Regions from separate parts of the Homo sapiens genome. Here regions 2, 3, 4 and 5 are each linked to region 1. Evidence: promoter capture Hi-C in 16 types of primary human blood cells and fetal thymus (Javierre and others, 2016). All regions are on one chromosome and are shown on one strand. Each heading gives the region's core, a stretch centred on a gene start or on the middle of the fragment in contact. The rest is flanking DNA. Distances are from core to core; before and after follow the strand shown.

Region 1 (2,801 bases), core at 114-2,613:
ATCTCCAGCTCAGGGGAACTGTGTTGGCTGAGTTTTGTAAGGCTCATGTTTCATCAACTCCCAATTCCAGTGCAGTGTATGTGGGTGGGGTTGAGGGAGCACGGAGGAAGGACTGGGGGGTGACGAACAAAGAATCCTGCCTTACCTTCAGAGGACAGCTGCTCATATTCATCTGACACCATGTGGCCACAAAGCGGAAACTCATCCACTTTTGCCTTTTTCCGCCCCAGGTCAAAAATGCGAATCTTGGCATCTAAAAGGATTGGGTAAGTGTGCAGGGGGTGTCACAGACGGACGCGGAGTCCGCAGAGCCAACCAGTGCAGGGGCTCTTCCACTACTTACCAGGGACACCTCGGCAGAAGCGAGACTTTGGGTACGGCTTGTTCTTACAATACCGGTAACTGCAGGGGAGTGAAAAAACACAGGTTAGGTGAGGTTCACAGAAAGCCCAACAGGCACTTTGCCCCTCAAGGAACAACCCAAACGAGGGACGGGAAAAGGGTGGGGAATGCACGTCCACTTCTAAACCGTTTCCATTCGGGGAAATAAACTACAAAGCAACAGTTGGCTGCTGCAACACAGACAACACCCAAGACTAGAAACAACAGACACCATCTTCCGTTACTTTGTCTTACGCTTCCTATAAACACTTTGCAACAAACTTTCCTAGTTAAAAATTCTCTCTTCAAGACACTGCGTACTACAAAATCGCCGCATTATCATTGCACAGCTCAGGTCACCCAATTTAAGACTTTCGGGCACGTGGCACTAAATCCACCTCCAAGCCGAGTGGAAATGCGTCTGGCGCCCCCTGTAGGACACAGGAGGCGGCCGCACCCGTTTTTCCCGGACTGCCCTTCACGTCCGACAACGCACGCGGCACGTCGCCCGGAAATAAGACAGAGAACGCACACAAAGGCCCCAAGAGCGTATCTAGCGCCCGAAAATGCGGTGAGCTTGCAGGACACAGGCAGAGATACGAGGGAACCGTCGCTTCCACACCGACACGGGAACGAAGGAACAGACAGTAATATTGCAGACTAAAAAATAGCCGGGAGGTGTAAAACATAGGGTCAGTTCCCAAGACAGGGCCGCCGCACGGGGGAGGCTCCACCCCACAATTGTTTTCAGCGGCCATAGGCACTTCTTTCCCCGCCCGTTTCCCAGCAGTGAAAGTACACGGATTCAAGACTCACCAACGGGCGGGGCGGCGGCCCATGGCGACACCAGGATCTTCAGTGGCTGCAACGAAAAAGAGAGAGTCGGAACGGAAGACGAGAACAGACCTAAAAGGTGTGAGAACCAGCAACGGCACCGCAAGAGACGACAACTGCGCTTACTCACCACACCGAAGGGAAAGAGGCGCTCCTCCGCCTGCGCATGGCTTATATAGGCGGTCTGTCTGCGCGCGTAAGAACCATAGAGTCCTGTCGAAGACGGGTGGACGCTCTGTCAGACGTCATGACCATAGACGCAGCCGCTCTTGGCGCTTGCGCCCGGGCGTAGCCCAGCACATGCGCAGATCAGAGAGGTGACCGGGTACCAGGGCCGCGGGCGGCCAGCTGACGAATGGGGCTTCGCCACATGGTCGCGAGAAGCCCGCTTCCGGCTGGCCATCTTGGGCGTAGAACTCTTGCCCTAGGCTTTGCCGTTAACTGTGACAGACGTATATTTCTGAGAGTGGAAAAAAGGAAAGTACCCTAGGTGGGCCTCCCGGCGACCGCGAGAGTGTCCCTGAGCTTGCACGGGTCTCGGACACGCGCTCCGTGCCTCCTTCTAGGCTAGAGGCCCCGGCGGTGAAGCGCCATACGGGGATCTGGGCCCGCGTTCCTTTGTCAACCCGGGAGGCCGGAGGGGGAGACCCATTCCCCTACCGGAGAGGCTGGACCAGGCCTTGCTGGGAGCCATGCCCCGTATCCCCGTTTCCTGGAGACCCAGGGTTCGCACATTGCCGCGGGGAAGAGGTCGAGGAGAAATCTCCACGGAGACTCATGGCCTGGGAAACCCCGGGGCATCTCTAGCCCCGCTCCGCCCACCCTGACCCGCACCGTCCCGACCAGCTGCGTCTCGGGCGCCGCCTCCCATGAGCCGCTCTCGCCTGGGCACCGCCCCACCTCGCCCTTCCCACTCCACTGTGCTCAAGAGTCCCTCCGGGTGCGTCTGGGGGTCGTGGGGAAGCAGGGCCGCCCCCACCCGCCCACGGGGCAGCATCCGGGGAGAGGTGCGCAGAGCAGGCGGGCGTCCTGGGGGAAGTGGCATCTGGAGGTATCTGTCCACCATTCTGCAGGTGGGGCGCGGTGGGGTAACAAAGTCTTCCCGTCCTTTGACAGGAAGGACGGGAGGAAATCCTGCTCGAGCGCACCTGTTTTCCAGGATGATATGTCGCTTTTATAAATGGCTGCAGGTCCCTTTGAGAAAAGCTTGGGACGATTTCTGGGGTGCACTTGCAGCAGTGGTGCAAGGTCCTTCCCAGGGGAACCTAGCCTCCCTTTCCATCATGGGACTCTGGATGCCGGCGGTGACTTAGGTCTGGAAACTGGGTTCGAGGCTGTAACACCACTGGGGCAGTACAAGTCAGGAATTGCGGCGGAGTGCCGTGGCTCACGCCTGTGATCTCAGCACTTTGAGGGGCGGAGGTGGGCGGATCACTTGAGCCCAGGAATTTGAGACCTGGACAACATGGCGAAAAACCGCCTCTACAAAAATTAAAAACTAAAAATTGGCTGGGCGCAGTGGCTCACGCCTGTAATTCCAGCACTTTGGGAGGCCGAGGCGGGCGGATCATGAGGTCAGCAGATCG
Region 2 (2,801 bases), core at 1-2,500, 490 kb after region 1:
CGGTGGCGGTCCAGCGTCATGGCCAGGATCATGTAGGAGGAGGCATACATGCCCACCATCTGCAGATACTTCACGGCCCGACACAGGGCATCTGGCCCACGGAAGCGGTCGGTGGCCTTCCAGGCCAGCTGGGGCAGCACTTGGAACAGAGCCACGGCCAGGTCGGCCAGGCACAAGTGGCCAATGAAGACGTGTATGGGTGCCCAGTGGCCCCGCCGGCCCCGCCGAGCTAGGGCCGCCAGCACCAGGCCATTGCTCAGGGCCACAGCCACAAAGACTATGGAGAGCAGCGCCAGCTCCGCCCGGGCTAGCAGCGGGTCCCGGGTGTCCAGTGGCCTCTCCTGGCTGCTGTTGCTGGGCAGGCTGGGCAGAGAGGGATGCCCAGGCACAGCTGGGAAGGAGTCGGGAAGAGGGCCTGGTTAGAGAGGGTGCTGTGCAGGGGGACTCAGGCCTGCCTCCCGTGCCCCCATCCGGACACCCACTTCCTGGCTCCTAGCAGAGGGGACTCCAGGAAAGCCATGTTATGAGGGATACACACCCCAGGCTCATGCAGTCCAGAAGGAAGGGCAGCCCCAGCCCCAGCCCCAGCCCCAGCCCTGGCGGGGAAGTGGGGCTGTGCTCCCCTCCCCACTCATTGGCAGCCTGGAGAGACACACCCAGAGGTGAGGGTGAAGGAGGTCTTTAGAAAGAGGGGCTTCCCTGAATCGTCAAACCCACTCTGCCCACCGGACTCATGGAGGGGCAAGCCTTACCGGAAGTGGTGGACGCCATGAGCATGGTGGGGCTGGGGCAGGTGTTCTGAGGGCCTGGAGGTGATGTGCGGACTCAGCCTCTGCCTGAGGAGCAAGTTCAATGGCCCAGGGTCTCTGGACTGGAGCCCTTATAGAGATGCCAGCATGGCAGATGCCTGTTGGCGTGTGTGCACGTGTCGGTGGCAGTATGGCCAGTCCTGGGCAGGGAAGATTGAGAGGGATGGTCAGACAGACGGATGCACAGAACCCAGGATCCCCCAGGCAGCCCATGAGTCCCGGGTTTGGGAGTGGGCACCCCAGACAGACACGCAGAACTCCCCTGCCCCAACCGAGGCCGAGAGAGGCCACCATCCGAGGGCTGGGGACTGGGCAGGGGGGCAGGCAGGCGCAGCCCCTTACCTGGCTGGGCTCCTGGGCAGCTGGGCGGTGGCGTGAAGGTGGCTGGGTGCTCAGATCTGCTCTCCATCGGCTGCCCTGCCCTGGCCCAGCCCAGCCTCTGGGAGTGACCTGGCCAGGAGGGGACTTCCTCCCCCTCCCCCTTTCCCCCAGGCCTCCCCTGGCCTCCTGTTTCCCTTCCTTTCCCCAGGGCCTCCCTGGTCCCGGCCCAGGACTCCCTCCTCCCACTGCCATAGCCTCCACGCCCACCCTCACCCTACCACGCCCCCCTGGTTGGATTGTCTGGGTTGGCAGTGCTCTGGGAGGTCACTTAGTTCAGCATTCCCATTTTATAAGTGGGGAAACTGAGGCCAGAGAGCGGTGGGTCTGGCCCAGGACTGCGCTGCTTTTTCATGGGAGCTTCACGCCCCCTTCCCAAGTTGGGGTCCTCCTGCTCCTCGCTGGGCCCAGGCAAGGAAGGGGTGAAAACACTTTCGCTGGGCCCCTCCCAGGCCCACGCAGGCCCCTCCTCCTCCCCAGTTAGGGCCCAGTTGGCCGGAGACGAGGGACAGGAAAGGGAGGAGTGGGGCAGGGGCCAAGCCAGGCTTCACGAACCCCTGTGAGATCCAGGGACACCCCCACCCTCTTCCTCCTGCCCCACCTGCAACTACCTGTCCTAGGAAGAGGGGCTGGGGACCTCCGTGTGCTCACGGGCTCCCTCCCACCACACACAACCTCACATGATACAGCCACACAGCCACAAACACACAACACAGAGACGCTCGCTCATGTTCTTGAACATACCATGAGTATGGACGCACCTTCCCTGTACCTGAGCCCTCCTCCTCCCTCCCCCAACACCTCTCTCCTTCCCCTGTCCCCACACCCCCTCCAGCCCCCATCCCAGTAGTTCTCTTTCCACTCCCCCCGCACCCAGGCCTGGCTTGGCTCAGCCGAGGCCAGCCCAGCCCAGCCCAGCCCAAGGCAGCTGCTTTCTTCCTGTTTGTCTGTCTTCTCTGTTGCCTGTGAAGCCAGAGACCAAAACAGCCTCACGGACCAGGCCCAAGTCCGGCCCGCGGCCAAGGCCTCCTCTTCCTGCCCAGAGAGCCTGGCAGCACCCTGGCCCCTCCCGGCCCTGTTAGGGTGGTGGGAACACAGGGTGGGCATTTTCCAGAGACAGCGCACACACCACACCACATACATACATGCACACAGCCACACGCCACACACACATGCACCCACCACACACCCATACGCCACACCACACACACACCACACCATGCACACATATATTACACACCACACACATGCACACATCACACACTCCCATACGCCACACACCCACACATGTACCCACCACACAGCCATACACACCACATACGCACAGCCAACACCACACACGCACACACCCGCAGCACACACAGGTGCACATCACACCCCGCATCTTTGCCATGTTTTTGCAGAGCCCCTTGGGGGCAGGCTGCAGAGTGCTGGCACCCCAGGCCTGACGCTTCAGCTGCATCTCCTCAGCGCATGCACATCCTCATGCTGTCCCCAATAACCGCATGCTGTCACTAATCTAGGAGCATAGAAAAGGCCTTCCTAATGCCACCCAGATCAGTGGAATAGGAGATGGCTTCCCTCAACTGGCAGAGAATTTGGGGACCCTGGCTG
Region 3 (2,801 bases), core at 302-2,801, 460 kb after region 1:
CTTCTTAAGAGTTTCATGACAGGTCGTCGCCTCCATCAGGGTTCTTTGTTTCTTTTCTTTTCCTTTTTTTTTTTTTTTTTTTGAGACGGAGTCTGGCTCTGTTGCCCAGGCTGGAGTGCAGTGGCGCGATCTTGGCTCACTGCAAGCTCCGCCTCCCGGGTTCACGCCATTCTCCTGCCTCAGCCTCCCGAGTAGCTGGGACTACAGGTGCCCGCCACCACTCCCGGCTAATTTTTTGTATTTTAGTAGAGACGGGATTTCACTGTGTTAGCCAGGATGGTCTCGATCTCCTGACCTTGTGATCCGCCCGCCTCGGCCTCCCAAAGTGCTGGGATTACAGGTGTGAGCCTTTGCACCCGGCCGGGTTCTTTGTTTCTTTGAATCAACGTAACCACGACTACAATCACAATAGAGAACTTTTTTGTTTGTTTGTTTGTTCGTTTGTTTGTTTGTTTGAGATGGAGTCTCGCTCTGTCACCCAGGCTGGAGCGCAATGGCGTGATCTCAGCTCACTGCAACCTCCGCCTCCTGTGTTCAAGCTATTCTCCCGCCTCAGCCTCCCGAGTATACTGCTGGGATTACAAGTGCGTGCCACCACGTCCGGCTAATTTTGTATTTTTAGTAGAGATGAGGTTTCACCATGTTGTCCAGGCTGATCTTGAACTCCTGACCTCAGGTGATCCGCCCGCCTCGGCCTCCGAAAGTGCTGGGATTACAGGCGCAAGCCACAGCTCCCGGCCCGATAGACAACGTTTCTACACCCCAGGGCAGAGTTCTTTCATTCCATCTAGCAGTGTCTCATCCCCTTGCCCAGTCGGTTATATAGTTGTAGCCTGCCTGCTGCGCCCACCCCTGCTTTCATCTTTGTGGAGGACGCAGTGTCGCGGTTAAGATCGCTGGTTCTGGAGCCACGTCACCTGGGGTCAACCCAGGCTCTGACCCCTGGTAGCGATGCAGTGGCATCTGGGCGGGTCCTGCAGGCGCTAGCTGTCACTGTCTCTGTTATTCCAGTTTCGCGATCCCGAGTACGGGGAATGGTTTGGCTACCTGAGCCGAGAGGGCAAGGTGGCCCTCTCCATCAAGGGAGGTCCTTTCAAAGGTGAGTGGGGGAGAGGGCGGGGCCGCAGGGGTTGCGCCTCTCGGCTGCCCCCGGCCCTCACTACCTGCCCGCCTCTACCCGCAGGCTGCTTCCACGTGCCGCGGTGCCTAGCCATGTGCGAGGAGATGCTGGGCGCCCTGCTGAGCCGCCCCGCCCCCGCCCCCTCCCCCGCCCCCACCCCCGCCTGCCGAGGCGCGGAATAAAGGCTGAGTCCGCTCCACCTGCGGCTGTGCGCGCGTCTGTGGGCTCGCGGGAGGGGGGCTGTCGCGCCGAGGGAGGGGCCGGCTCCAGCTCCGGGGCAGCGCCCGCCCCGCCCCCAGGCCCGCCCCGCGCTGACCGGCTCCGCGCATTGGCCCGCCCCGTGCGCTGGCCTGTCCCGCGCATTGGCCAAGCGGCCGGGAGGACGGGCCCGGCGGCCGTGCACTTCCGGCCGGTGGCCGGCCCGGCGCGCACCGCCCCTTCCGCCGTCGCCCAGCGAGCCCAGCTCCGGTCCCAGCCCCGGCCGTCCCGGCGTCGCTTCGGAGCGCGGCGGCAGCTGACTGCGCCTTCACGATCCGCTGGGACCCGCGAGCCCCGCCGCCGTTATGAACATCCGCAATGCGAGGGTGAGCGCCCGGGGCGGGAGGCTGTCCGCGCCGCGTGGGCGCCGGGCCGGGTGGCTGCCGCGCATGCTCCCGAGGGCCCCGGCCGAGCCCGGCCCGGTGGCCCTGAGTGTGCCTGCGGCCGCTGGACCTATGGGGCTGGCCCAGCCCGCCGAAGAGGCCGGGGCGCGGGGCCGGGGCTGCGATTCCCTCCTGTTTGCGTGATGTCGGGCCTCCGTTGGGTGGGCTCCGGGGACCTCCGGGGCGCCCACTCCTGTTCCTGTGCTCCGGGCGTTGTGCAAAGTCAGATCGTCACAGTGCCTGCCCAGCCCCGAGGGAGCGGGGCCGAGCAGACCGACGGGGAGCAGGCTTCTCACCCGTGGTCACCGCCGCCTTAGACTGAGCGCGTTCCACTGCCCTCCTTCCCTGCAGCCAGAGGACCTAATGAACATGCAGCACTGCAACCTCCTCTGCCTGCCCGAGAACTACCAGATGAAATACTACTTCTACCATGGCCTTTCCTGGCCCCAGGTGGGCAGCTTCTGAATTTGGGCATGGGGGAAAGCAGGCCGAGGAAAATCCCATCTGGCCATCTTGGAGGGAGTGGACAAGTCTGTCAGAGCCCAGGGGGCTGTATGGTCGGTGGCGTCCTGGGTGTTTTCAGCTGGCAGACAGGGGCAAAGGAAAAGAAGGCGCCCGAAGGGAGCAGAGAATAGGGGCAGGATCCCCACTTTGCGTCTTCTTTCTGGGTATGGGCAGGGCACAGTGTGGCGAGGGGGAGACCAAGCCACTCAGCCCGGAGGTCATGAGCCATCACACAACTCGCCACTCGTCCAGTTTGTGTCCCTCTAAAGGGCTCTTCTAGCTCCGACAAGAAGTTTTCTCACTCTGTTTTCCTGTCACCAGCTCTCTTACATTGCTGAGGACGAGAATGGGAAGATTGTGGGGTATGTCCTGGCCAAAATGTGAGTCACCAAGGAGGAAGACAGAAGCTACACGTGTCTGGTGGATGCCTCTGTGGGCTTTAAAAAAAATGAATAGGCTTCTTCTTTTCAGTACAGTTGAAAGTTTATAGAAAAATTGAACAGAAAGGACATGGAGTTCTTATAGCACCCCTCAGC
Region 4 (2,801 bases), core at 173-2,672, 360 kb before region 1:
TCCTCTACGGGTGCACCACTTATAACCTTGTGTACTATATATATATAATATACATACATATAATACATACATATATAATATACATATATACACACACATATTTATATATATATATAATTTTTTTTTTTTGAGACGGTCACACTCTTTCCCCAGGCTGGAGTGCAGTGGCAGAAACTCGGCTCACTGCAACCTCCTTCTCCAGGTTCAAGCAATTCTCCTGCCTCAGCCTCCCGAGTAGCTGGGATTACAGGCGTATACCACCACGCCCACCTAAATTTTTTGTATTTTTAGTAGAGACGGGGTTTCACCATGTTGGCCAGGCTGGTCTTGAACTCCTGACCGCAGGTGATCCGCCAGCCTGGGCTGGGATCACAGGCCTGAGCCACCGCGCCCGGCCCTGTGCTATATTTTTACTGTCCTTTTTCTGCTTAGACATGTTTAAGTACACAAACTCTCGACGCTGTGTCCCAACTGCCTACAGCATTCCGCACAATACCATGCTGTCCAGGTTTGAAGCCTAGGAGCCATACGCTACACCATATACAGCCTAGGTGTGTAGTAGCCTATGCCACCTAGGTTTGTGTAAGAGCCCTCTGATGTTCACACAATGATGAAATCGCCTAACGACCCATTTCTTAGAACGTATATCCGTAGGTAAGCGAGAAAACAAGGTGTGTAAGGCCAAATGTATGGGTCCCATGGCTGGGTAACTGACTGTAGGCTACTGCACGTGTCGGCTTCCCTTCCGGTTCACCACGTGGCTATGGCAGAGCTTAAACATCCCACAGAAGCGCTCACGCAGGGGGCCGGAAAGTTCCATAAGCGACCACTCGACTGTCCCCGCGGGCTTGTGGCCTCTAGAACTTTCTTGCAACTCGGAGCTCTATCCCTGCTCCGGGGTCCCTCCGCTCCTTTTCTTCTCGGCCCGTTTCCACTACCCTTGCTCCCCTAGTCGCATGGAGCTGTAACGGCGGCGTCCGGGCTGGCAGCAGCACAGACACTGCCACGTCCCACGCCACCGCGGGGTGGGCAGCACGGCAGATGTCTTTCGACGGCGACCCGGACCCCAGGGAGGTGAGAGGGCCGAGCCCCATCATGCCAAGTCACCGCGAGGGGCTCCCACTCTCGCGCCCTTGCCACGGAGCCAGGGCCGAGAGACAAGGCCGGCTTAAGGCCGGGCGGTGAAGAGGCCGACACGCCGGCGGGAACCAGAGGGAGGCGTGCGCGGGCCCCGATACCATCCCCCCACCCCCGTTCCCCGAGTCGCCCGGAGTTAGCACGGCCCGGAAGCCTGCAGCCCTTACCTTCCGCATCCGCCATGTTACCCTGCACCGCGTGCGTGCCGCCCGGTCCACAGCCGAGGGAACGACCGCAGACTCCCGCCGCCTTGGTCCCGTCAGGCCGCGCTGCTAGGACCCACCCACCCGCGCACTGCCCTGTGCGTGCCTTGCCGCGGGGCGGGAGGAGGCGGGGCCATCCCGGGGGCGGAATCCGAGGCGCCCGCTGGTCGTCTGCGCAATGCGATTTGCTGGCTCGGCCAGTACGGAGGGCGAGACCGCGCATGCGCTTCGAGCCTCAAGCAGCCTGGTTGGCCCAGGCTGGAAGCGCGAGTGCCGCCCGCCCCGACAGCCCGGAGTCTGTGGGCGTGGCCCCAGCTGTAGTTGCTTCACCTCCGGGTTTAGCTCCGCGCCTGCGCCTGGGCTCACGGCTGAACGCTCCGTAAACAGTACCTCTTTCTTTGCTTTCTCACACCGACCCTTTCAGGTTGCTGTTGGATCAGTCCTGATGCATAAGTGAACATGTTGAAGCTCGGAGAGGTTGAAAGGCCTTTGCTGCTTGCAGTTCCCATCCAGCTAGAGCAGATGGCCAATAGGAGTAGTGTGCGTGCCACATGTTGACTTTTAAATTTTCCAGCAGCAACATGAAAGAAGAGTAAAAAGAAAAAGGTGAAAATGATTTATAATGAATTTTTTTAACCCAGCGTATCCGAAATATTATCATTTCCACATATAGGCAAAACACAACAGTATGAATGGGGTATTTTACATTGGTTTTTTTTTTTTGTCCCCGCAAAGACTTTCCGGTGTGTGCGTTTATGCTCACAGCACACCTCAATTTGAACTCTACGACCGGGCTTCACGCCAAACAGCAGAGACAAAGCACTGGCACTAAATCTCATAGAAACAGGATGAGCCTGGGTATCATGATAGGCAGCAGGGCTGGAAGCTGGAACCAAACTGATTTCTCCCCAGGGATCTTTGGTGGTGTCTAATTGATCACAGTGTCCTGTAGTAAGCCATCATGATCTGTATAACCCCGGTAACTCTAGGTCTGGCTAAAGGCATTCTGCCTTGAATCACCACAATGGAAAATCATGGTGCCTCATCTAATTCCCAGATCTAGTCAGTCCACAGGCCAGAGCCCGTGAGGTGAGCCTGTAAAGGTGAGGCCAGGCACATGTAACGCTACAAGTGTGTACTTTCAGCCTGCCTCCTCCCTTCTCGTGGGACCCGTGGCCATTTACCAGGGGCTTGCACTAGCCCGTGTGAATCACTGGGGAAGTAGAATGCCACTTGGTCCAATGGTCAGAAGTGGAGTCAGCCCACGTCCCTTTCACTATCAGCCACCCTGTGGCTCTTTCCCCGGTTCTTGAATCCATACTTGTAATAAACACAATTGGTAGCTGGATAAATTCCCAGAGGGGCTTCCTGACTCAAGGACTGAGGGTGATAATGGAAGGAAAGAACAAAGGAAGCCTCTGGCACATTATCATAATTGAGTCCCTGGGAACTGATTTGATC
Region 5 (2,801 bases), core at 165-2,664, 260 kb after region 1:
CTGGCCAGCCTTGTCCCATTACCGCCATGAGCTGGCTGGGTGGCCTTGAACAGGGCGACCTCTCCCTCTTGACCGAGATTCCCCTTCTGTCTAGAGGGAGATAAGCAACTCTGAGGCTTCCCTGGGCATCCAAGGCCACCATGCTATTTGGAAGCCCTTTGAGAACACGAAGTGCCCTATGAAGTGGGGGTCCAGCAGAGGAGGAGTGGGGTGTCTGGGGGAAGCCCCCAGCCTTGCCTGAGCCCCGGAGCTGGCCCTCCGCTCGCCCTGTCTGCCCTTGTCCAGGATTACGCTAATGACCCAGCTCAGTGCAATCCCACCAATGCCCTGGGCCACACGTGTGCCAGCCCCCACATCCCAGGAAGGAGAGTGGAGGTGGCAGAGGTGGGAGGAGGCCTGGAAAGGCGGTAGGTTCTGCACCTTCACCGGCTCTGCTAATTGATGATTAGGGCTAACAGAAGATCAAGTCCCATTTTAGCCTAAAGCAGATTACTGTCCTAGAAAGTCACTCAGCACCTGTGGGGGCACGTGTGTCCCCAGGCCAGGTGAAAACTCATTTGTGGTCCCACACTCTTGCAGAAGGGTGGATGAAAGTGGAGGGAGCACTAGAGAAGGATATGAAGAACGAGGGGGTGAGGGGGTGGGATGGGGGGAGAGGAGCGGGAGCAGTGGCGGCCCAAGAAAGCCCCAAGGAAAGAGGGCCCCTGGGGAAAGGCCAGAGGGACCCAAGCCAGGCCGGGCCCCAATGTCAGCGCCCTCTGCTCTGCCCGGAGTCTCCCACCCTCGCTGCCAGCTGGGGCCCTGGCCAGGGTGGAAGATTAGATGTTGGACTTGTCTCTAATGCGACTACTCCTAAATGACTCCACGCGGGAGAGCCGATTAGGAGTTATGGGGGCTGCTGTCATCTTGACTCAGGGGCTTTGTCACTAACAGCCGATGGCTGCTACAGCTATAGGACAAGGAACCATTTGGCCATTTGCCTTTGACACTTTAAAAAGATCGTGGTAAAATATACATAATACAAAGTGTACCATCGCTACCGTGTGTAAGTGTATAGTCCAGTCACCACCATCCGTCTCCAAACTCTTTTCATTGCATGAAACGGAAGCTCTGTCCTCATGAAACACCCATGCCCTTTCCCCACCCCTCAGCCTCCTGCACCCACCCTTCTATTCCTATGCATTTGGGAGCTCTGAGTGCAATCCTACGGGTGCATGGCCTTCTGTGCCTGGCCCGGATCACTTATCCGTTGCCTTTGTGTATTTGGAATGGATATCCAACCATTGGATTTTCATTTTTGTGTGGTTAAACATCATTTGTTCCCTTTTTGACTTCTGACCTTCCTACCTCGTTTGAAGAGGTCCGTAAACGCACACCGTACTCCGCCCTCTGCCCCAGCTGCCGGGCTCTCCACACTTGCCAAGGCCCCCTACTCGGTACAGTCTTGATATTCTCAGCTCAGCCTCATAATCTCACCCTGGCTGCTGTAGGCCTCCTAAGTCCCTGCCCGTCCAGCCGCTCTAAGTCACAGAGTGTGAATGTGGCACGTCCACCCTCTGTGTCCTTGAGCGTGGTGGTCACTGTGTCCTCATCAGGAAGATGGGGATAACATTTACTTGCTGTAAGGCTTAAATAAGATCATCCTTTTAAAGAGTCTTAGCTCAGTCTTTGGTACAGAAAACTCAGCCAATTATTCATTCAGTGGGTACTTATTAGGTACTTTTGTACCTGTTCTAGGTCCCGGGATGCAGCTGCAGATGGAGATCCCGTGCTCCGCAGCTGCAGCTGCCTTTCTAGTTGGGGGAGATGAGTAGGATGGAGAACAGAAAAAGGAAGACAGGAGGGTGCGGGTGCCAGGGTGGGAAGGGAGTGGATGCCCACTTTCGAAGGGCACCAGGGTGAGCCCCTCTGAGAAGGGGACATGTGAGCAAAGACTCGAGGGAGGGAGGGCAGGAGGGAGCCATGCAGAGATCCAGGAGGGCATCACAGGAGAGGGGCAGCAAGTGCAAAGGCCCTGGGGCAAGAGCGTGGCTGGCCTGCTCCAGGACCAGCAAGGATATCAAGATGGCTGGAGCGAGAGTGGGGTTGGTGAATAGGAGGAGGAAAGGCTGCATGGCGGGGCCCTTCTCACTCTGAATGGAATGAGGAGCTTTGTCGGATTTTGAAAGAAAAAGTGACGCAATCTGAAGTTGATTCGGATGGACTCCTCTGGCAGCTGTCTGCGAGCTGTAGGGGCCAGGGCAGAAGCGGGGAGACCAGGTCTGGGAGGCGACAGTAGGGTGGTAAGAGGTAGCAGACTCTGGAGAGCTTTTGTAAGTGGAGTCAACAGGATTTCCTGGTGGCTTAGGTGGAAGCAGCGAGAGGACAGGAGGAGTTGCCCTCAGCTGAGAAGTCGAGGTTGTGGGCATCAGGCATCCATAAATAACGAACATGGGGACTGGCAAGGGGCCCTCGCCTCACAGCCATTGACATCCTTCACAGATCCTGACTAATGTGAACATTTGGATGGAATGGACAAACTTTTAGGAAAACACAACTTACCAAAATGGGCTCAAGAAGAAAGAATCAGAAGAGTTGAAGTCGCTGAACCTTTCATGTCAAACCTGCCCACAAAGAAAGGGTCCCTGTTCCGTTTCTGACCTTTGCCCAGGTTGACATTGATTCTGAGCCTGTCATGTCTTTCTTTCTTTGTTTCTGACATGTCTTTTTTTTTTTTTTTTTTTGACGTGGAGTCTCACTCTGTTGCCCAGGCTGGAGTGCAGTGGCGCGATCTTTGCTCACTACAACCTCTGCCTCCCGGG

What was found. Contacts are between HindIII fragments. The CHiCAGO score rates a contact against its expected background, and 5 or more counts as called.
Region 2: a contact is called between the fragment with the promoter of AVPR2 here and the fragment with the promoter of RPL10 in region 1, in 2 of 17 cell types (naive B cells and total B cells). The highest score is 7.5, in naive B cells.
Region 3: the fragment with the promoter of NAA10 here is called in contact with the fragment with the promoter of RPL10 in region 1 in 11 of 17 cell types (naive CD8 T cells, non-activated CD4 T cells, neutrophils and 8 more); the score reaches 12.9 in naive CD8 T cells.
Region 4: the fragment with the promoter of DKC1 here is called in contact with the fragment with the promoter of RPL10 in region 1 in 5 of 17 cell types (fetal thymus, activated CD4 T cells, naive CD8 T cells and 2 more); the score reaches 11.0 in fetal thymus.
Region 5: a contact is called between a fragment that was not itself captured here and the fragment with the promoter of RPL10 in region 1, in 10 of 17 cell types (naive B cells, activated CD4 T cells, naive CD8 T cells and 7 more). The highest score is 10.7, in naive B cells.

The regions. Positions count from the first base shown.
Region 1 is chrX:154,396,939-154,399,739 of GRCh38, reverse strand. It overlaps RPL10 (ribosomal protein L10), which reads right to left and starts at 1,363. Exons shown (of 7, transcript NM_006013.5): 1 at 1,346-1,363; 2 at 1,198-1,243; 3 at 344-402; 4 at 146-253. The coding sequence starts at 1,220. LOC124905228 (a long non-coding RNA gene) reads left to right here and starts at 898. Exons shown (of 2, transcript XR_007068356.1): 1 at 898-2,155. RefSeq lists enhancers at 1-362, 363-908, 1,231-1,440, 1,453-1,998 and silencers at 2,001-2,070, 2,141-2,320. The HindIII fragment of the contact is 9,726 bases long and covers 1-2,423 here.
Region 2 is chrX:153,903,122-153,905,922 of GRCh38, reverse strand. It overlaps AVPR2 (arginine vasopressin receptor 2), which reads right to left and starts at 1,250. Exons shown (of 4, transcript NM_000054.7): 1 at 1,152-1,250; 2 at 753-949; 3 at 1-391. The coding sequence starts at 777. The HindIII fragment of the contact is 5,945 bases long and covers 1-2,801 here.
Region 3 is chrX:153,933,787-153,936,587 of GRCh38, reverse strand. It overlaps NAA10 (N-alpha-acetyltransferase 10, NatA catalytic subunit), which reads left to right and starts at 1,551. Exons shown (of 8, transcript NM_003491.4): 1 at 1,551-1,704; 2 at 2,113-2,211; 3 at 2,587-2,645. The coding sequence starts at 1,684. It overlaps RENBP (renin binding protein), which reads left to right. Exons shown (of 11, transcript NM_002910.6): 10 at 1,012-1,099; 11 at 1,184-1,319. The coding sequence ends at 1,302. RefSeq lists enhancers at 281-785, 786-1,291 and a silencer at 1,282-1,861. The HindIII fragment of the contact is 15,713 bases long and covers 1-2,801 here.
Region 4 is chrX:154,761,485-154,764,285 of GRCh38, reverse strand. It overlaps DKC1 (dyskerin pseudouridine synthase 1), which reads right to left and starts at 1,422. Exons shown (of 15, transcript NM_001363.5): 1 at 1,305-1,422. The coding sequence starts at 1,320. RefSeq lists enhancers at 892-991, 1,742-1,801 and a silencer at 1,342-1,641. The HindIII fragment of the contact is 5,247 bases long and covers 1-2,801 here.
Region 5 is chrX:154,138,392-154,141,192 of GRCh38, reverse strand. No RefSeq gene overlaps it. Among named protein-coding and RNA genes, the nearest start is that of OPN1LW, 4.5 kb to the left of the region's middle. RefSeq lists cis regulatory regions at 41-631, 37-2,489. The HindIII fragment of the contact is 6,975 bases long and covers 1-2,801 here.